Regions from separate parts of the Homo sapiens genome. Here regions 1, 3 and 4 are each linked to region 2. Evidence: promoter capture Hi-C in 16 types of primary human blood cells and fetal thymus (Javierre and others, 2016). All regions are on one chromosome and are shown on one strand. Each heading gives the region's core, a stretch centred on a gene start or on the middle of the fragment in contact. The rest is flanking DNA. Distances are from core to core; before and after follow the strand shown.

The links. The method cuts DNA at HindIII sites, captures the fragments that hold promoters and counts their contacts. A CHiCAGO score of 5 or more calls a contact.
Region 1: a contact is called between a fragment that was not itself captured here and the fragment with the promoter of KBTBD4 in region 2, in 1 of 17 cell types (endothelial precursors). The highest score is 6.5, in endothelial precursors.
Region 3: a fragment that was not itself captured here is called in contact with the fragment with the promoter of KBTBD4 in region 2 in 1 of 17 cell types (M1 macrophages); the score reaches 5.3 in M1 macrophages.
Region 4: the fragment with the promoter of AGBL2 here is called in contact with the fragment with the promoter of KBTBD4 in region 2 in 1 of 17 cell types (endothelial precursors); the score reaches 5.0 in endothelial precursors.

The regions. Positions count from the first base shown.
Region 1 is chr11:47,372,812-47,378,953 of GRCh38, reverse strand. It overlaps SPI1 (Spi-1 proto-oncogene), which reads left to right and starts at 407. Exons shown (of 5, transcript NM_003120.3): 1 at 407-645; 2 at 3,225-3,321. The coding sequence starts at 601. RefSeq lists enhancers at 244-313, 1-760, 934-983, 1,654-1,853, 4,287-4,788. The HindIII fragment of the contact is 791 bases long and covers 3,869-4,659 here.
Region 2 is chr11:47,577,720-47,580,461 of GRCh38, reverse strand. It overlaps KBTBD4 (kelch repeat and BTB domain containing 4), which reads left to right and starts at 1,492. Exons shown (of 4, transcript NM_018095.6): 1 at 1,492-1,529; 2 at 2,434-2,742. The coding sequence starts at 1,511. NDUFS3 (NADH:ubiquinone oxidoreductase core subunit S3) reads right to left here and starts at 1,388. Exons shown (of 7, transcript NM_004551.3): 1 at 1,304-1,388; 2 at 1,128-1,193. The coding sequence starts at 1,370. RefSeq lists enhancers at 615-1,273, 1,342-1,581, 1,274-1,933. The HindIII fragment of the contact is 1,977 bases long and covers 1-1,707 here.
Region 3 is chr11:47,745,353-47,751,188 of GRCh38, reverse strand. FNBP4 (formin binding protein 4) reads left to right here. Exons shown (of 17, transcript NM_015308.5): 5 at 1-46; 6 at 153-273; 7 at 4,795-5,133. Among named protein-coding and RNA genes, the nearest start is that of FNBP4, 19 kb to the left of the region's middle. The HindIII fragment of the contact is 7,780 bases long and covers 1-5,140 here.
Region 4 is chr11:47,711,300-47,716,930 of GRCh38, reverse strand. AGBL2 (AGBL carboxypeptidase 2) reads left to right here and starts at 1,562. Exons shown (of 19, transcript NM_024783.4): 1 at 1,562-1,756; 2 at 2,181-2,313; 3 at 2,584-2,647. The coding sequence starts at 2,281. FNBP4 (formin binding protein 4) reads left to right here. Exons shown (of 17, transcript NM_015308.5): 17 at 1-437. RefSeq lists an enhancer at 1,825-1,884. The HindIII fragment of the contact is 6,151 bases long and covers 399-5,631 here.

The DNA of each region.
Region 1 (6,142 bases), core at 3,015-5,514, 200 kb after region 2:
CTAGATCAGAGCCCTCACCCAGGAAGGCTGACTCCAGAAAGTGGAGGCCCCAAGAGGCCACCCCTTCCAGCTCTGACCCCAATGAGGTGACTGTTGGCTACATAGGGATCTCAAAAGAAGCAGGCATTTGTTGGGTTAGAGCAAAAGCCTCCCAGTGGTGTGGCAGAGCTACACGTTCTCCCTCCCATCCTCCCTCCCCAGCTTAGCCCCCAAAGTCATCCCTCTCAGTCCCAGCTTCCTCTGGGCAGGGGGCCTGGACCCCATGGCTTCCCAGGCCAGCCCTTTGAGCACCACCTGCCCCAGCCGGCCAGAGACTTCCTGTATGTAGCGCAAGAGATTTATGCAAACGGGTTGGGGCGGTGATGTCACCCCAAGGGGACTATCTCCCAGCGGCAGGCCCTTCGATAAAATCAGGAACTTGTGCTGGCCCTGCAATGTCAAGGGAGGGGGCTCACCCAGGGCTCCTGTAGCTCAGGGGGCAGGCCTGAGCCCTGCACCCGCCCCACGACCGTCCAGCCCCTGACGGGGCACCCCATCCTGAGGGGCTCTGCATTGGCCCCCACCGAGGCAGGGGATCTGACCGACTCGGAGCCCGGCTGGATGTTACAGGCGTGCAAAATGGAAGGGTTTCCCCTCGTCCCCCCTGTGAGTACCGGGACTCCTCCACCAGCCCAACCCGTGGCCCTCGGACGCCTGCCTGCCTGCCCACGAACCCGCCAGCCCACCCACTGCCCTCCTGGCTTGCTATCAGTGGGAAGTCAGGGTTTCCTCCCTGGAACTCCTGGCCTGAGACCCAGCGAGGGGGCCATTGGCTTCCTCGGAGCATGCCCTGGCGGGCTGAGGCCAGGCCCACGGTGGGGCTGTGATCGGTGGGGCCTGAACAGTTATTTATAGACAGGGCTCGGGTGGCAGGCGGAGGCCGGGGCTCCTGGGGAGGGTGCTGGGCTGAGGATGGTGAAGGCGGTGGTAGAGAGGTAGAGGAGGGAGATGGGGGGACTGGCTTGGGGGAGGCCGGTCCCCTGGATGGGAAGGGGTTGAAGGCAGGAGGCAATGGGCAGAAGTCTTGGCCCATGGCCTTGGGGCTCCTGGAAACCAAAGCTGATGGAACTCTGGGTCCCCAACGCCCAGTCTGGGGCCTGGCACAGAGGACATGATTGTTGACCAAAGGGTCAGGGCCATGGGCCCACAGGGGTACCCACAGGAGACAGGGACTGGTGCTGGAAAGGAGCCAGGAGTGGAGCTGAGACAGTGCAGTTAGGGCTGGCCCCAGGGCTGGAGTTCAGGGAGAGGCGCGGCAGGGGACAGGGCTGGGACAAGGCCAGGACTGAGATTGGGGCTGGGTGGGACCTGGGGTGAGCATGTGATAAGTGAGAATGGGGGCTGAGGCTGGGACAAGGACAGGGACTGGGTCTTGGGGGTGAAGAAGTGGGAGCCCCAGGGGACCCCGAGAAGAGAAGGGCAGATCGCCACTGCTCCTCACTCTCAGTGACAGTTGCAGCCTTAGGCAGGTGTCAGACCAGGGTCCCTCGGAAAGGACCCTTCTCCCTTTTCCCACCCCATGACCTCTCAGGAGTGAGGAGGCTTGAGGGGAGCCGGGAAGGGCTTGGCAGGCTGCCCACCTGAATCCACTTTCCTGGTCTAGAGGCAGCTCCCTTCCCCCACTATGCCCTGGCTCAGAGCCACCCCAGGAGGCTGGGAGGCACCCCAGGCCTGACATCACACCAACCCGACCAGAGCCGGGCTGACATCCTGCAGCGAGGCTGTACTACCTGGAAACCCAGAGGGGCAGGCTCAGTGCTGGGCTCCTGGCCTCCTCACTTGGCCAGCCACAGGCAGGACCAGGCAGGACCAGCCAGCCTGCTGTGGCATCCACACCGACACCCCTTCCCACCTGGGAACACGAAGTGGGCGGCCCAGGCAGAGGGTGACGGAGGTTGTCTCAGAAAGAGCCAATTCTGCCTCAAGAAAGCCACAGGCCCACTGTCTCTGATCCCTGACCTCTCAATTCTGAACTCCAGGTGGAGCTAGATGGGTGGCAGAGCTCCTTGGGCCATCCCTAGGCACCCCCAGCCCTCTCTGCAAGCTCCAGGGTCACTCTGAGTGTCTCCTGGTAGGGTGGGCTCCCAAGGCAGCCCCGGTCCCCCAAGCCCAGCCCTAAGGGCCACAGTGACTGTTATGCAATCCTGGGCCACACGCTGCGGGGGCGGGGAGGCCTGATGACTGTTGGGAAGGCTCCTGGGTGTGCACGGCCCTGTGTCTGTGCCAGTAGGGGGAGGAGGACAGGGAGGAGGGAGGAAGGTGGGAGGAAAGAAGGAGGACAGGGAAGAGGGGGAAGAAAAGGAGGACAGAGGGGAGTGAGGAGGGGGAGGAGGAAGCAAAGGAGACGGGGAGGGGGATGCAGTGAGGAGGGAAGGAGGAGGATAGGGAGGACTCAGGAGGGAGAGTGAGGGGATCAAGGCCCTCCATGCGCTCGGCCCCTAAGTCTGCCTGGGTGACCCCTGCACCAACCGTCAGTGTGGAGGGTCATTGTGGTGCCACTCTTGCCCAGGCTGTGTGAGAGGCATAGGCTGTGAGAGTGGGGCTGGGCAGGCAAGTGTGTGCTGTGCGGTTGAGTGTGCAGGTGGAATGTGAGTGGCTCTGGGGGTGTGAGTGTGTGTGTTGATGGCTGGAACGTGGTGTCATGTGAGTGTCAATCAAGGAGACTCTGCGTGTGTGCATGAGCTGAGTGTACAATGTCTCTGTGAGGTGGGTGACCTCTGAGTGGGTATGAAGATGTGTGTGTGAGGGATAGTGTGCAGGCGCCTGCATGGGGGTGGGTAGGGGCTGTGAGAGTGAGTCCTCGTGTGGGATTATGAGTGTGAGGGTGACACAGGGATCGTGTGGACATGTGCATCAGTGTGACCAGGAGAGGTGTGTGGGATGAGGATGGGGGCACACAGGCGTGAGTGTGAGTGTGAGCGTGAGGTGGCTATGGGGAGTAGCCCAGCAGAGGGGGACCCTGGTCCTCTTCTGACCTCTCACCCCCAAGGTCCCTGTCACCCCTTTTCAGGCCTTCTGGGTCCCCTGCCCCACTCTCTGTCCCAGTTCCAGGCAGAGGGAGGGCTGTAGGTCCAACGCAGCCACTGAGCCAGGGAAGGTGATGGGGACCCAGCGTGCGGGGGTGCTGCAGGCCTGGCTGGGGTCTCCCACCATGGTGCAGGCCCTGACACCTCCTCTCTCAGCAGCCATCAGAAGACCTGGTGCCCTATGACACGGATCTATACCAACGCCAAACGCACGAGTATTACCCCTATCTCAGCAGTGATGGGGAGAGCCATAGCGGTGAGTACGGGGCCTGCCACGCCCCCATCCCCCAGCCCAGCCTGGGCTCCTGGGGTCTGGAGAGAGAAAAAGAATAAATGATTCCCAGGACTTCTTTGGAATTCTGAGAATCAGATCAAGTTTGCTCTCAAAGGCAGTGAACTGCAGCATCATCGCTGCACCCCCACACCTGAGCCTCCATTATGGAGCCTCTGCAGTGTGTCAAGGTGCGGGGTTCATTTCTTCCATGGTTATCTGCTGGTTCTGTCCTTGTGGTCTTCTTTATAAACAAGGAAACAGGCTTAGGGTGCTAGGAGACTTGCACAAGGTCACACGGCTGCTGGGTGGAACCCAGGTCTGTCCGCTCCAGGTCCTGTGCTTTTTTTTCTGCCCCTGCCTAACTACCCACCTCCTCCTCTCTGTTCTCGTCACTCTCTGTCCCAAACTCCCCGCCGGCACATCCGCACTTCCTGCCATGTGTGGTTGGCAGGGTTTCCTAACTGTGGCACTGCTGACATTTTGGGTGGGATGATTCCTGGGTGGGCTGTCCCGGGTACCGTAGGAAGCTTAGTGGCATCCTTGCTTCTACCTACCACATGCCAGGGCCATGGCCAATCATGACAACCAAAAATGTCTCCACCCATTGGCAGATCCCCCCGGGAGGCAAAATCACCCCTAATTGGGAACTGCTGGGCCGAAGGAAAACCTATGAGAACCTCTTGTTCAGCAGAGGCCGAGGCCCCCAGTTTGCTGAAGTGGGAGGAAGAGGCCTGGGCCAGGGTGTCCTTCTGTCTGTCCAGTCCTTCTGGGTCTGACTGTCTGCCCCATAGCCCAGCCTCCGTCCTGGAGCAAATTCAGGGGATGGGAGAGAGGCATTAGGTGCCTGGGACCTGAGCAGGGGGCTGCGGGAGGTTGCCCAAAGTGGATCTTGGCTTATTGATGTAGACATCCCTGACCCAAAGCGAGGTGGCCTAGTCAGTGGGTGAGTCGTCACTGGGGAATTCCTCAGGGCGTCTGGGACCCGGGCAGACCAGCGACTGGGGTGTCTGCACCTCAGAGGGCAGAGGCCCACAGCCTAGGAAGGTGTCACTCCTGAAGGCCACCCCTGCGGCCAGTCATGCCTGTAGCTCCATTCTGCAGATGCACCTGTGGCGGTCTAAACCTGATGGGCCCAGCTAGGGATCCACATGTGCCTGGTCCACATTTAGGGCCCCAGATTCATCCGGAACTCAGACTGGAAGCCATATCCCAGGGGTAGGCGGATATGCCTCCAGGCCACAGCTGGGAACGCACAGGCATCTTTTAGAATCTTTCAGGGCTAGAAAGCCTTTAAAATATCCTTTTTAATTCCTTCAAGCTTATTTGTAATTATGTAAAAAACACATCCTCTTGGTGGGAAACCCAGGCAATGTAGAGAGAAAGTCCCCCTCCCCCAACTCCATCCCCAGCTCTCCCTACCAGAGTGAAGAGCCCGGTCTGGGGGACCCAGAGACCACGCACCCACCTTCCCAAGCGGTTCCAGGACTCCAGGAGGTCCCGCTGGGCCCTGGGACAGGCGCCCCCTGGTGGCTCGGGTCACCACAGACAGTGCTGTCAGGCCTCCTCCAACAAGGACGCATTCTCCCTGGCCCAATCCCTCTTCAGTTCACTGGGCTTGGGTGCGTTTCCTTTGGGCCTTTTGCAGCCTCAGTTTTCCTTCCTGTAATATGAGGGCGCTGCCCACATAGCTGGAAACCAGTGAGCCTGGGGCTGGGCCTGATGGAGTGAGCACTTTAGAGAAAGCATGTGTTTTCGTGGCTCAGGGTCCAAGCAGGTTCCTTATATCTCAGGTGGGACTCTAGGAATGACTCCTGATTGGATGCCTGGGCACCCCATGTTGGTCATGAACCCCTAGTTCCTCCAGAGACTCCACCAGTGTTCCCAGGTGTCCTCGGCCTTGGCTCTGTCCCACTCTTAATCACTGCCAATCAGGGCATTTGGGCTGTCCTTTTCTTTTTTTTTTTTTTTTAGGACAGTCTTGCTCTGTTGCCCAGGCTAGAGCGCAGTGGCCCAATCTTGGCTCACTGCAACCTCCGCCTCCTGGGTCCAAGCGATTCTCTTGCCTCAACATCCCAAGTAGCTAGGATTACAATCGTGCACTACCATGCCTGGCTAATTTTTGTATTTTTAGTAGAGATGAGGTTTTACCATGTTGGCCAGGCTGCTCTCAAACTCCTGACCTCAAGTGATCCACTTGCCTCGGCCTCCCAAAGTGCTGGGATTACAGGTGTGAACCACCGCGCCCAGTCTGTCCCTTTTTTTTGATACGGAGTCTCGTACTGTCGCCCGGGCTGGTGTGCAGTGGCACAATCTTGGCTCACTGCAACCTCCGCCTCCCGGATTCAAGCGATTCTCCTGCCTCAGCCTCCCAAGTAGCTAGGATTACAGGCGCCTGCCACCACGCTCAGCTAATTTTTTGTATTTTTAGTAGAGACAGGGTTTCACTATGTTGGCCAGGCTGGTCTCGAACTCCTGACCTGGTGATCCGCCTGCCTCAGCCTCCCAAAGTGCTGGGATTACAGGCGTGAGCCACTGCGCCCGGCCGGGCTGTCCCTTTTTATACCCGCTGGAAGGTATCGTCTGAAGACTCAACCATAGAGACCCCCACACACTTCTGTCAATTCCTGCACGTCCTCTTTGTCCACATTTTTAGGTACTGAAGCTTAGTGAAAAAGCTTTGGCCCAGCCCTGGCTCCATCACTTACCAGCTGTGAAAACTTGGGGCAAGTAACATAACCTTTCTGAGTCCCTATTTCCCCATTTATAAAACTGACAGCATGAAAATACTTACCTCCTAGGGCTG
Region 2 (2,742 bases), core at 243-2,742:
CTCTTAGGCTTGTAAGGGATGTCAAATCCAGGAAAGGCTCCCTGAAGCACCTTGAGAAAGGTGCATGTGAAAGGTTTCCCTTCTAGGGAATACAGTGATGAAAACTTGGGGAAAGTGCCACCTTAACTACACGGTCCTCAGAAAGACTCTTACTATAGCAGCTGGGGTGTTCACCTCTTCTCAAAATTACTCCACAGTTCTTCCCTCACATTGCCTGCATTTCTGCTAAAGCAGTAGTCTCAGTTCTCCTGTCAGACTAAGAGCTGTTTGAGGATGGGAACTGAACTTTTGCCTCTCTGTAGCTCCTTAGCACGCAAGTTTATACCAGGTTCTCAAGCTAAGAACTTCAGGGCTTGAAGATCCCTCACAGACTCTCTCTCTCCTTAAAAGTGTGTGTGTGTGTGTGTGTCAATGAGAAAACTGAGGCCCAGGTGTGTGTGTGTGTGTGTGTGTGTGTGTGTGTGTGTGTGTGTGTGTCAATGAGAAAACCCAGGAAAGGAGAAATGCCAGGTCTCCTAACTCCCAGTCCGTGTATCTTGACTGTAACATAATATGTACATACTCATTCATGCAACCCTAAACCACTGAGCAATCACACATCACAAGCTACAGAATAATGGTTAGGTGTTTCTGCCTCTGGCAGCAGGCAGGCCTACTTTGTCATTCACTAGGTCTTTGACCCTGGGCAGTTTAATTCTTTGGACTGTTTCCTGATCTATAGTAAGAAGAGTAAGATGCTATCTACCCCATAAGGCTGTTGTGAGGACGAAATAAGATCATTCACTAAAACGCTTAGCGAGGTTCCAGGCACACATTAAGCACTCAATTAACGCTAGGTACTATTATTACAGGGCTCTGAGGCCTAAAGGTTATATTGCTTGCTTTCAAAGAGCTGACAGTTTAATCAGACAAAAAGGGGATGATTGAAATGGACAAGGAACAATCAGGGCCATAACAGGCCTAAGGGCACAGGGAGGGCTCGATTCTGCATGCAGGGTGAAGACCACTGCAAGTCAGATCTCCAAGATTTGCCAGGAGGACGTAGGGAAGGGCATCCTAGGGCAAGGACAGGCATCTAAGGGGCCCCGCCGATAGTTCAGAGAAGAGCGCTGCCCGCACATACTCACGGCGCGTGTCGGCCCCGGCGCTCTCCCGCCTCACCGGCAGCAACAGAACGGAGGGTCGCCCAGTCCCTGCACAGGGAGATAAAAGGCACAGACGCGCGGGATGAGCCCTGAGGAGCTCTCTGCACTGGGCACGCCGCTGCGCCTGACCCCGGTCTCAGCTGGCTGCCCGTGCTCACCCCTGGTCAGCGCCGAGGCCCCCAAGATCCCGCGCCACCACAGCCTGGCTACCGCCGCCGCCGCCATGTTACTCAGATGCAGACTAGGCAGCGGACGGAAAGACAGCAGGACACGGAGCCCCAAGGGCACGGACCGGAAACGGAAGTGTGCAGCAGATCTTCTTCCGGGCGGACGTGGAGCCGGAAGCGGAGGTTCCGGGCTCCGGGATGAAAGGAGGGAACGCAGGTGAGAAAGCGAGACAGGCAGGTAGGGAAATCGTGAGGTGAGCGTGGTCCTAGCTCCTTGTGGCAGAGCCTAGAGAGAAGGCGAGGACGCTGAAGAACCAGGCGGGTGAGAGGAGGGGAGGGGGCGGGCGTTTTGGGTTCTACGCTACACACCCCTCCCCCGCTCTCTGAGCCAAGCTTTTGACGAGGGCGGGCGGGCCTGAGCGGGAAGAACGGTTTCCCTGGCGACCGTTTCCAAGACGACTCAAGGTGGAGCGGGGACATTGCACAGGGTGATGGGCCTCCCAGTGCCCCGGCCTGGGGGCGGATGGACTCAAGTTCTGGGACGCAGCCATAGGGAGTCTTTCGAGCGAGCGGGGAAGTGTGGGGGAAGCAGCTCAGAAGAGAGCAAATGTAAGACCCACGGATATCCCAGGCTAGGCTTCATATGGAGCGTCTTAACTCCATGCGCTGGGAAGGAGAGGACCTGGCCACTAGGCCGGGGCCAGGGGTCCTTTTTGTCTGATTCTACTGCCCCTGAGCTTCACTAGTTTTATGCCCCAGTTATTTGGTTAGTAAGGCTTTTACGATCACAGGCCTCTCCCAGCCCTTTGCTTTCATATATTGACCTAAATCCCAAGTCTTTTGTTAACATTATGGAAAGGAATTATTCCGTGTTTTCTCAGGAAAACACCCAGAGTTGGAACTTTTATTTATATCATTAGCGGAGGGGCGCCACTGGGGATAACGAACCCAGATTTGGTTAAAGGATAGCGTCAGGGACATCATGGACAGGGCCAGGACTAAGGCCAATCTGGACCCACTTTGCTCTCACTTCTTCCTTTTCCCTCCCTGAGTTGGACAGTTGGATTCACAGACTATGGCTGTGAATTCCTCAGGTTACTCAAGATGGTGTTGCTTTGCAGACAGCTGGCAGAGAGAGAAGTTGGCTAGCATGGAATCACCAGAGGAGCCTGGAGCATCCATGGATGAGAACTACTTTGTGAACTACACTTTCAAAGATCGGTCACATTCAGGCCGTGTGGCTCAAGGCATCATGAAACTGTGTCTAGAGGAGGAGCTCTTTGCTGATGTCACCATTTCGGTGGAAGGCCGGGAGTTTCAGCTCCATCGGCTGGTCCTCTCAGCTCAGAGCTGCTTCTTCCGATCCATGTTCACTTCCAACCTGAAGGAGGCCCACAACCGGGTGATTGTGCTGCAGGATGTCAGCGAGT
Region 3 (5,836 bases), core at 1-2,500, 170 kb before region 2:
AATATCTTGCCACACAGGTACAGGGATTACAGCATTACCAGCCCAGGTAAGAATAAATTTAAAAGTGAAATTGCCTAGAAGGAAATTGAAGCCTTATCTTTTGCTGATAGTATTTGTCTTATATTTCTCTTGCTAAGTATATATTTTTTTAGTTCTGTGCCAGGTGCTGAAACTAGTTTTGTGGTAAATACAGACATATATTCTAAGGAGAAAACGATTTCTGTTTCCAGTAGTAAAAGTGGACCAGTCATAGCCAAGCGAGAAGTTAAAAAGGTCAGTGTCGAAACTTACCTCATTTGTTTATTTTCAGATCTAATAAGCGTTACTCTGAGCACAGGAGTGGAAGCCTTCTCTTAATATTTTATGTCATACATGTGAAATAGGATAAGTTTCATAACTTTCACTTTGTTTCTGTGTATTATGTAGCCTTTATAGCGGTTACTCACTTGACTTTTTCTTTTTTCTTTTTTCTTTTTTTTTTTTTTTTTTTTTTTTTTTTTGAGACAGAGTCTCGCCCCGTCACCCAGGCTGGAGTACAGTGGTGCGATCTCAGCTGACTGCAAGCTCCACCTCCCGGGTTCACACCATTCTCCTGCCTCAGCCTCCTGAGTCGCTGGGATTACAAGCACCCGCTACCACACCTGGCTTATTTTTTGTATTTTTAGTGGAGACGGTGTTTCACTGTGTTAGCCAGGATGGTCTCGATCTCCTGACCTCATGATCCGCCTGCCTTGGCCTCCCAGAGTGCTGGGATTACAAGCGTGAGCCACCACATCTGGCCTTTTTTTTTTTTTTTTTTTTTTTTTTGATATGGAGTCTCGCTCTGTTGCCCAGGCTGGAGCGCAGTGGTGCTGTCTCAGCTCACTGCAACCTCTGCCTCCCAGGCTCAAGAAGTGATTCTCCTGCCTCAGCCTTCTGAGTAGCTGGCATTACAGGCACCTGCCACCATGCCTGGCTAATTTTTGTATTTTTATTAGAGGCAGGGTTTCACCATGTTGGTCAGGCTGGTCTCAAACTCCTGACCTCAGGTGATCTACCTGCCTCAGCCTCCCAACGTGCTGAGATTACAGGCATGAGCCACTGCAGCTGGCCCACTTCACTTTTTCTTTGAGAGCTTTAGGGTATCACAGAGGCCTCTTGGATCATTGCAAAGGACGTGGGAGCAGCAGTCCAGACAGGGCTCCACTTCACATAGAATCATTCTATTATTTTTCGGATTCCATATATAAGACATTTTAAAAATATAAAGGTAACTACTTTAAAAACTACTGCAGGTTGAGTATTTCTTAATTGAAATGCCTGGGATCGGAGATAATTTAGATTTTGAATTTTTTTGAATTCTGAAATATTTGCGTTATACTTAGCAGTTGAGTATTCTTAATCTGAAAATGTGAAATCTGAGATGCTCCAGTGAGCATTTCCTTTGATCATCATGTCAGTGCTCAAACGGTTTCAGATTTTGGATTTTTCAATAACGGATACTATGTTAGTGAAACCTGAGCATTTCTATAGCCTAATTAGTAAGAAAAGTAAGTTGTATTCCTTAGGGAGTGTATATTGAATTCCAATTTATCTTCAATTTTAAAGACTTTTTTGCATCAAAATATATTTTAATTTTAATTTTTTTCTTTTTGAGACAGAGTCTTGCTTGGTTACCCAGGCTGGAAGGGAGTGGCGCGATTTCAGCTCATTGCATCCTCCGCCTCCCAGTTTCAAGCAATTCTGCCTCAACTTCCCGAGTAGCTTGGATTACAGGCACAACGCCTGACTAATTTTTCTATTTTTTTTTAGTAGAGACGAGGTTTCACCAGTTGGTCAAGCTGGTCTTGAACTCCTGACCTCAAGTGATCCACCTGCCTCAGACGCTGGGATTACAGGCACAAGCCACCGCACCTTTCCTTTTTATTTACTTATTTTTGAGACAGGATCTGACTCTGTCACCCAGGCTAGAGTACAGTGGCACGACCATGGCTCACTGCAGATTTACTCTCCTGAGCTCAAGCAGTCCTGCCTCAGACTGCTTAGTAGCTGGGACTACAGGTGTGCACCACCATGCCAGGTTTTGTTTGTTTGTTTGTTTGTTTGTTTGTTTTTTGAGAGACGTGGTCTCACCATGTTTGCCAGACAGGTCTCAAACTCTGAGCTCAAGTGATGCTTCTGCCTCGGCCTCCCAAATTGCTTACATTATAGGTGTGAGCTACTGCATGTAGCCCAAAAAAAATACTTTAAAATAATATAATTGAGCTTGGCGCAGTGGCTCACACCTGTAATCCCAGCACTTCGAGAGGTCAAGGCAGGCGGATCACTTGAGGTTAGGAGTTCAAGACCAGCCTGGCCAACATGGTAAAACCCCGTCTATTAAAAATACTAAAATAACTGGGTGTAGTGGCACATGCTTGTAGTCCCAGCTACTTGGGGGTCTGAGGCAGGAGAATCGCTTGAATCTGGGAGGCAGAGGTTGCAATGAGCTGAGACCGCACCACTGCACTCCAGCCTGGGTGACAGAGTGAGACTCCATCTCAAAAAAAAATTTAATAATAATAATAAAATAATAATTTAATCAGGGCAGGAAGATGGCTTGAGTGCAGGAGTTCTAAACCAGCCTGGAAAACATAACAAGATCAACCCCATCTCTACAAAAGAAAAATTACCCAGGCAAGGTAGCACACACCTGTAGTCCCAGCTACTCAGGAGGCAGAGGCAAGAGGATAGCTTGAGCCCAGGAGTTCAAAATTATCATTGTGCCAGTGTGTTCCAGCCTGGACAGAGTGAGACCATCCAGAAATAATAATAATAACTTAAATTTACAGTTACAGAAAGGAGGATAGGACAAGTGTTACCCCAATGGGAGAAGCAGATACTTTAATCACAAATTTCATTTCAGGAATAGTTCATTTTATTTTATTTTATTTTATTTTTATTTTTTATTTTTATTATTTTTTTTTTCTTTGAGACCTAGCCTAGCTCTGTCACCCAGGCTGGAGTGCAGTGGCGCGATCTCTGCTCACTGCAACCTCCACCCCCCGGGTTCAAGCGATTCTCCTGCCTCAGCCTCCCGAGTAGCTGGGAGTACAGGCGCCTGTCCCACGCCCGGCTAATTTTTGTAGTTTAGTAGAGACGGGGTTTCACCATATTGGCCAGGCTGATCTCGAACTCCTGACCATGTGATCCTCCCACCTTGGCCTCCCAAAGTGCTGGGATTACGGGCATGAGCCACCACGCCCAGCTATTTTATTTTTTTGAGACAGTCTCTCACACTGTCATCCGAGCTGGAGTACAGTGGCATGATCTCAGTTCACTGCAACCTCTGCCTCCCAGGTTCAAGCGATTCTTCTGCCTCAGCCTCCCGAATAGCTGGGATTACAGGCGCACGCCGCCATGCCGGGCTAATTTCTGTATTTTTAGCAGAGATGGGGTTTCACTATGTTGGCCAGGCTGGTCTCAAACTCCTGACCTTGTGATCCGCCTGCCTTGGCCTCCCAAAGTGCTGGAATTACAGGCATGAGCCACTGCGCCCGGCCTAGGAATAGTTCACTTTAGTCTAAATCACCTTCATGGCATACTTACTAAATTTTCTTATCAGGCCCAGCATGGTGGCTCACGCCTGTAATCCCAGCACTTTCGGAGGCTGAGGTGGGCAGATCACCTGAGGTCAGGAGTTCAAGATCAACTTGGCCAACCTGGTAAAACCCTGTCTCTACTAAAAATACAAAAATTGGGCCTGTTGCCAAGGTGGGCGGATCACCTGAGGTCAGGAGTTCGAGACCAGCCTGGCCAACGTGGTGAAACCCTGTGTCTACTAAAAGTACAAAAAAAATTAGCCAGGCTTGGTGGCTCTCGCCTATAATCCCAGCTGCTCAGGAGGCTGAGGCAGGGAAATTGCTTGAACCCGGGAGGCAGACGTTGCAGTGAGCCGACATCACACTTTGCACTCCAGCCTGGGCAAGAAGAGCGAGAGTTCGTCTCAAAAACAGAAACAAAAATGAGCTGGGTGTAGTGGTGCATCCCTGTAATCCCAGCTACTTGGGAGGCTAAGGCTGTGAGGCTGGGAATCGCTGGAACCTGGGAGGCAGAGGTTGCAGTGACTTGAGATCACGCAATTGCACTCCTGGGCAACAGAGTGAGACTCTCTCAAAAAAAAAAATTTCTCATCATACAGAAGAAGGTAAAGATTTATCCAGTCATGTTATGAGCTGACAAAATACTGATCTTAAATCTATCTCTGTTTACTACTAGTCTGCCTTTTGACATCCTGAGAATAGCAGGGAGGATATATTTGAATCCTACCTAGAACTAGGCTCTCATTCAGTCAGTGTCTGTCTAAAGTAATAATGTAATGGTATAAATATATACTCACCTGTTGGGAGTAAGTGGTTTTGGCCGGGCACGGTGGCTCACACCTGTAATCCCAGCACTTTGGGAGGCTGAGGTGGGCAAATCACAAGGTCAGTAGTTTGAGACCAGCCTGGCCAACGTGGTGAAAGGCCTCTACTAAAAATACAAAAAATTAGCTGGGCATGGTGGCGGGCGCCTGTAATCCCAGCTACTTGGGAGGCTGAGACAGGAGAATAGCTTGAACCTGGGAGGCAGAGGTTGCAGTGAGCCAAGATTGTGCCACTGCACTCCAGCCTGGGTGACAGTGCGAGACTCCATCTCAAAAAAAAAAAAAGTCGTTTTTACCTTGAGTATTCAGCTACTGAAAACAGTTAATATGAATGTGTGTGCAATTGAATGTATGTGCAGGTGAGATTTGTTTCAGAATTAAATGAGACTAAATTATTTTGTTCTTTATAGGAAGTAAATGAAGGAATTCAGGCTCTCTCAAATAGTGAGGAGGAGAAGAAAGGGGTGGCAGCATCGCTGCTTGCTCCTTTATTGCCTGAGGGAATAAAAGAAGAAGAAGAGAGATGGAGAAGAAAAGTAATTTGTAAAGAGGAGCCAGTTTCAGAAGTAAAAGAAACAAGTACAACAGTAGAAGAAGCAACAACAATAGTAAAGCCACAGGAAATTATGTTGGACAATATAGAAGACCCTTCTCAGGAGGATCTTTGCAGTGTTGTCCAATCTGGAGAAAGTGAGGAGGAAGAGGAACAAGATACCCTTGAACTGGAGCTAGTTTTGGAAAGGAAAAAAGTAAGCTTTTGAAAGTTACTTGTAGAATGTTTTTTCCTCAGTACTACTCTACAGGGATCATTGTGCTTGACTTACAACCATTATTGGGATTTTGTTTTTCTTATCCCATCATCTAGGTATGTTGAAGCTTATGCAGCAAAAACTTTAAACTACAGAGGTGTAGGTTTTTTGGTCCTTGATGATACTTTTGGTAGTTATCGGGGGAACTCACCCCCAATATTTCAACCTAGGTTCTTTCTATTTTCCATAAGTGTCGGCCAGCTGAGAAATAGAAAGAGTATAATGAGAGGAATTTTACAGCTGGGCCGCCGGGGGTGACATCACATATCGGTAGGACTATGATGCCCACCCGAGCCTCAAACCAGCAAGTTTTTTATTAAGGGTTTCAAAAGGGGAGGAGGTGTAAGAACAGGGAGTAGATCATGTGCTTCAAAGGGCAAAAAGGTACTGATAAGGGTCTATGTTCAGCGGTGCACATGTTGTCTTGATAAACATCTTAAACAACAGAAAACAGGGTTCAAGAGCAGAGAATCAGTCTGACCACAGACTTACCAGGGCCGGGTTTTTCCCCACCCTAATAAGCCTGAGGGTACTTCAGGAGACCAGGGCGTATCTCAGTCCTTATCTCAACCGCATAGGACAGACATTCCCAGAGCGGCAGTTTATAGACCTACCCCCAGGAATGCATTCCTTCCCCAGGATA
Region 4 (5,631 bases), core at 313-2,812, 140 kb before region 2:
GGCCACACTCTTTAGAGTAGTTCTCATAAGTTCTAGAACTGGTAGCTCGGTCGTTTCGCACACTAGGTGGCATACAGGCAGCAGCAGGTGTTCATATCCTTGATTTTGAGAATTTCCCCTCAAGTATGTGGCAGTAAATACAACAAGACACTCTATGTATTAATGTCTCCATTGTCTTAACCCTGTTCCAAAACAAAATTCACCTCCTTTCTTTATGTGAATGTATTCTCCATAAAATTCCAGTATTTAAAAAGCAGTTTACTGTTCTGTACTTTCTGTTGTATCACAATCAGGTAAAAGTCACTTTAAACTGAGGAAACGGCAAATTGTGTTTTAAAGCTCTTTGTATTTCTCCAGTTTCTGACCTTGTAAATTTGTATATATGCACTAATAAAGCTTTTTTTATAATCCTGATGGGTTATCCTTTTGCTCGTCAACTCCTGTTATTCTGATTATGTAACCAGGACTTGTTTTTTTTTCTAAGCATATACAATGCAAGGTGCAAACATTTAACAACAGCTTTCAAGAAAATGAGCAGGAGATCTTTAATGGGGAGTGGTGGGGCCAGTTTAGACAAACAGGCTTCTAGTCCCAGATGGTGCTGTGTGATCAAAGTTTTGGGGTCTAATATTATCTATAATATCTAGATTGGTTAATAGCCATATTAGATAATATTTTACCTACTTAATTCCTGGCAATGATGTAATATGGTTAACATTTCAGAAAAAAAGGTGCTTTATAGCTTTTTTCCCCCCACTGATAAAAGTAACAGATACGGTTATATTCATATATAGTTAACCAAAGACACGTGTTTGAATTTTATTGTAGTATATTTATTTTTTTGTTGTTGGTTTTTTGTTTTTTTTTTTTCTGGAGACAGAATTTCGCTCTTGTTGCTCAGGCTGGAGTGCAATGGCACGATCTCGGCTCACCGCAACCTCCGCCTCCCAGGTTCAAGTGATTCTCCTGCCTCAGCCTCCCGAGTAGCTGGGATTACAGGCATGCGCCACCACACCCAGCTAATTTTGTATTTTTAGTAGAGATGGGGTTTTTCCATGTTGGTCAGGCTAGTCTCCAACTCTCGACCTCCCAAAGTTCTGGGATTACAGGCGAGAGCCACCGCGCCTGGCCTGGAGTAAATTTCTATGCATATAATTGATTTTTTTAAACCTAATCAAAATGTGTGATTTGAATTTGTTAGCTCTGTTTCTTAAGATTTGCAGTGTAGAAGGTAATTTTTCCTTTCTAGCTGTGCAGTGGAGAGAATGTTAAGGTGAAAGGAGAGAAGCAGCAGCTCTCTTAGAGCAAATTATGCATAACAGTTATCTAAAGCCAACAGCAAACCAGCTTGGAAGTATGTTGAAGGCTACTGGCATCGTACTCATCAATGCGGTTTCGATTCCGAGGCTGGGGCTGTGATGTATGAGGGGAAGAAAGCCGCTGCCCGCCATACATGTTGCAGACCTTCCCGGGGTCCCCGCTCCCTCCTTGGGGGCGAGGCCTAGCTCCCCGGAAGCGCCCGACCGCCCCGCCCTTTCTCCGCTTCCTGCTTTCGGTTGCTAGACTACCCGGGCCCTCACAGAAGGCGGTGGCGGGCGGGTGCAGCGAGTTTGTCCCCTTGCCCGCACACTGCTTGGCCTCTGTACTTAAGTGCGGTGGCCGCCTGCCTCGCTGGAGCTTCTCTGCCGCAGCCATCCGTGCTGCTTGGGACGGGCCGGGGCGCGAAGGCGGTCGCATCCATCGCTCTGCCCTCCTGGGAAGTTTCTGCTCTCCTTCCCCGCTCCTACCCTTAGGAAACCCCCTCACCACCTGCCCCAGACCAGGTTCCTCTGAACCCTAAATTCAATCTTTAGGGCCCACTTTCCCAACCCCCTGACCTTTTTCCATCGGCACCTACCGAGACGACTTCGTCGCGTGCTCCCATACCCATTTCTTTCACTTTCCTGTGGCGAGCATCTCCTTTCTCAGGGAAAGGGAAGCATGGGGCCAGCACCTTGGGAAGAAGAAGCGGGAAGATACGCTGCCCTCCCTGTCTCAGATGCACCTCTGGCCTCGGCGTGACCACCTTGTTTAGCTGAGGAGAAGCTGGGTTGGCAGGGTTTTCTGAAGTCAAGAGGGAGCTGGGGGGCGCCCGGGGAGGTATTGGCAGTTTTTTCACTTGTCCTCTTGTGGCTTTGTAGCTTCTCTTGTGTAATCAGCTGCCTATTTGGAAATTGGGCAGGGTTTGCGACTGGATGCTAATGTCACTGACTAGTTTTCAGCCTACCATCCAGAAGTAACATGTTCCCAGCTTTGGAAACGCACCTAAAGCAGGTCGGTACACAACACGGAAAGCCACAGAAATTTCTTCGGGGAACTCCATTTCTTCGGGAACTCCACAGAAATCTGCTACTAGATGAGAAGGGATGTTCTGGTGGCATCTTTTCTCAGCTGGAGATCTTGATCCCCACGATAGAATAATTCGCATGGAATGCAGCTCGCTTGGTTTAGTCTAGTCCTATGCAACAACGCTCATGTACTTTTTGTTGAGTCTATTATGGTTTGAAAACATTATCTTGATTGAAGTGGCCTTTCCTTTCACAGACTATTCCTGATCCTTATGAAGACTTTATGTACCGTCACCTCCAATATTATGGCTACTTTAAAGGTAATACCATGTTCTTATCTAGTATCACCTTTCCTGGACTCAAGAGGAAAATTGCTTCGTTAGCTGGGAGGGTTGCACTTGGGTAGACTAATAAATAATTTGCATTGACAAATAAATACTTTTTCCTCTACCATTAGTGAAAAGTACTTCCTTTCCCCATTGATCTGCGGGTCACCTCTGTCAAGTAGACAGCATCACTTAATACAAAGGTCTGTTTCTGGGCTCTCTATTCCATTGGTCTGTTTGGCTATCCTTTACCAGTATCACTGTCTCTTAATTACTATATGGCATTAAAATAGTCTTTATCTGGAAAGACATGTCTTCCCACCTTGTTCTTCAGAAGTGTCACGGCTGTTCTTGAGTCTTTGCCTTACTATATAAATTTTACAATTGGCGGCCGGGCACGGTGGCTCACACCTGTAATCACAGCACTTTGGGAGGCCGAGACGGGTGGAGCACGAGGTCAGGAGATCGAGACCATCCTGGCTAACACGGTGAAACCCCGTCTCTACTAAAAATACAAAAAAATTAGCCGGGCGTGGTGGTGGGTGCCTGTAGTCCCAGCTACTGGGAAGGCTGAGGCAGGAGAATGGCGTGAACCTGGGAGGCGGAGCTTGCAGTGAGCCGAGATCAAGCCACTGCACTCCAGCCTGGGCGACAGAGTGAGACTCTGTCTCAAAAAAAATAAATAAATAAAAATTTAAAAAAATAAATTTTGCAATTGGCTTATGACATTTTATTTTATTTTTTATTTATTTTGAGATGAAGTCTCACCCTGTCGCCCAGGCTGGAGTGCAGTGGCACGATCTCGGCTCACTGCAACCTCTGCCTCCCAGGTTCAAGAGATTCTCCTGCCTCAGCCTCCTGAGTAGCTGGGATTACAGGCACGAGCCACCACGCCTGGGTAATTTTTGTTTCTTTCTTTTTTTTTTTTTTTTTGCGATAGAGTCTCACTCTTTTCACCCAGGCTGAAATGCAATGGCGCAATCTCGGCTCACTGCGACCTCCACCTCCTGGGTTCAAGAGATTCTCCTGCCTCAGCCTCCCAAGTAGCTGGGATTACAGGCGCCCACCACCACTCCCAGCTAATTTTTTTGTGTATTTGTAGTAGAGACGGGGTTTCAACATGTTGGCCAGGCTGGTCTTGAACTCCTGACCTCAGGTGATCCACCTGCCTAGGCCTCCCAAAGTGGTGGGATTACAGACGTGAGCTTACCGCGCCCAGTGTTTTTTTTATTCTTGAGACGGAGTTATGCTCTTGTTGCCCAGGCTGGAGTGCAGTGGTGCAATCTAGGCTTGCTGCAACTTCCACCTCGCGGGGTCAAGCGATTTTCCTGCCTCAGCCTCCCAAGTACCCAGGTAGCTGGGATTACAGGCGTGTACCACCATGCCTGGCTAATTTTGTATTTTTAGTAGAAACGGTTTCACCATGTTGGCCAGGCTGGTCTCGAACTGACCTCAGGTGATCCACCCACCTCAGCCTCCCAAAATGCCAAGATTACAGGCATGAGCCACCACGCTCGGCCTAATTTTGGTATTTTTAGTAGACACAGGGTTTCCTCATGTTGGCCAGGCTGTTCTCGAACTCCTGACCTAAGGTGATCCACCCACCTTGGCCTCCCAAAGTGCTGGGATTACAGGCGTGAGCCACTGTCCCCAGCCCGCTTATGACATTTTAAAAGATTATAGGAATTGCATTAAATCTGTAGATCAAATTTCACAAGAACTGGCAATTTTTCAACACTGGGTTCTCCAATCTATGACTATAATATTTATCTCCATTTACTTAGGTCTTTAATGTCTCCCAATAAAGATTTATAGTTTTTCATAATACTTCATATTTTTATGCTATTATAAATATTGATCTTCTTAAAATTTAATTTCCTAACTTTGTTACTGGTATATTGAAATAAGATGGAGTAATATTCATTGTATTAGTATTAATTTTATTTCTATCAAAGAATGTTGTTAAACTTTTTTATTAACTACATTAGTCCCCCCTTATCTACAGGGGGGAGGTTCCAAGGCCCCTGGATGGCCTGAAACCACTGATAGTACTAAATCCAAATCACTGTCATTCAGAACAGACTTCTATCTTCCACCCACAAATTTAATGCCTTTTCCACCATAACTAAGTACTTATGTACTGTGGCCATTACTTTTGCAATATGAAGTATGACAGCAAAACTATTATGATATTTATTTATTTATTTTTTAGACGGTCTGTTTTTTGCCTTGGCCGGAGTGCAATGTTGCAATCACAGCTCATTGCAGCCTTGACTTCCCAGGCTTAAGCGATCCTCCTACCTCCCAACTAGAAGGGAACACAAGCACATGCCAGCACACCCAGCTAATTTAAAAATTTTTTTTGTAGAGACATGGTCTTACTATGTTGCTCAGGCTGGTCATCATACAATTTTTTACTTTCCATACAAAGTCAAGAACTTCAGGCCGGGCGTGGTGGCTCACGCCTGTAATCCCAGCACTTTGGGAGGCCAAGGTGGGCAGATCACCTGAGGTCAGGAGTTCGAGACCAGCCTGGCCAACATGGCAAAACCCTACCTCTACTAAAAATACAAAAAATTAGCTGGGCATGGTGTTGCACGCCTGTAATCCCAGCTACTCGGAAGGCGGAGGCAGGAGAAATGCTTGAACCCGGGAGGCAGAGGTTGCAGTGAGCTGAGATTGCGCTACTGCACTCCAGATTGTTGAAGTTTCAATACCCTCTTCATGGGGAGAGAGACATTCAGGGAGGGGTTGTGTAGGCAATTGTGAAAGGTAGTAAATGATATTCAGGAGAAACGAATGAGCTCCAAAAACCATGTCCTGGGACAAAGTTCCTCTGAGCTCCGGGGAGGGGTGGCAAGCAAGTGAGGGGAGGAGCTTCACTGAAGAAAGGTTGTCTTATGCAAATAGTTGCCCAGGTAATCTCTGAGTTGCCCTCAGAATTGATGAAAAGTCTATCTGGGTGTCGTGACAATTTT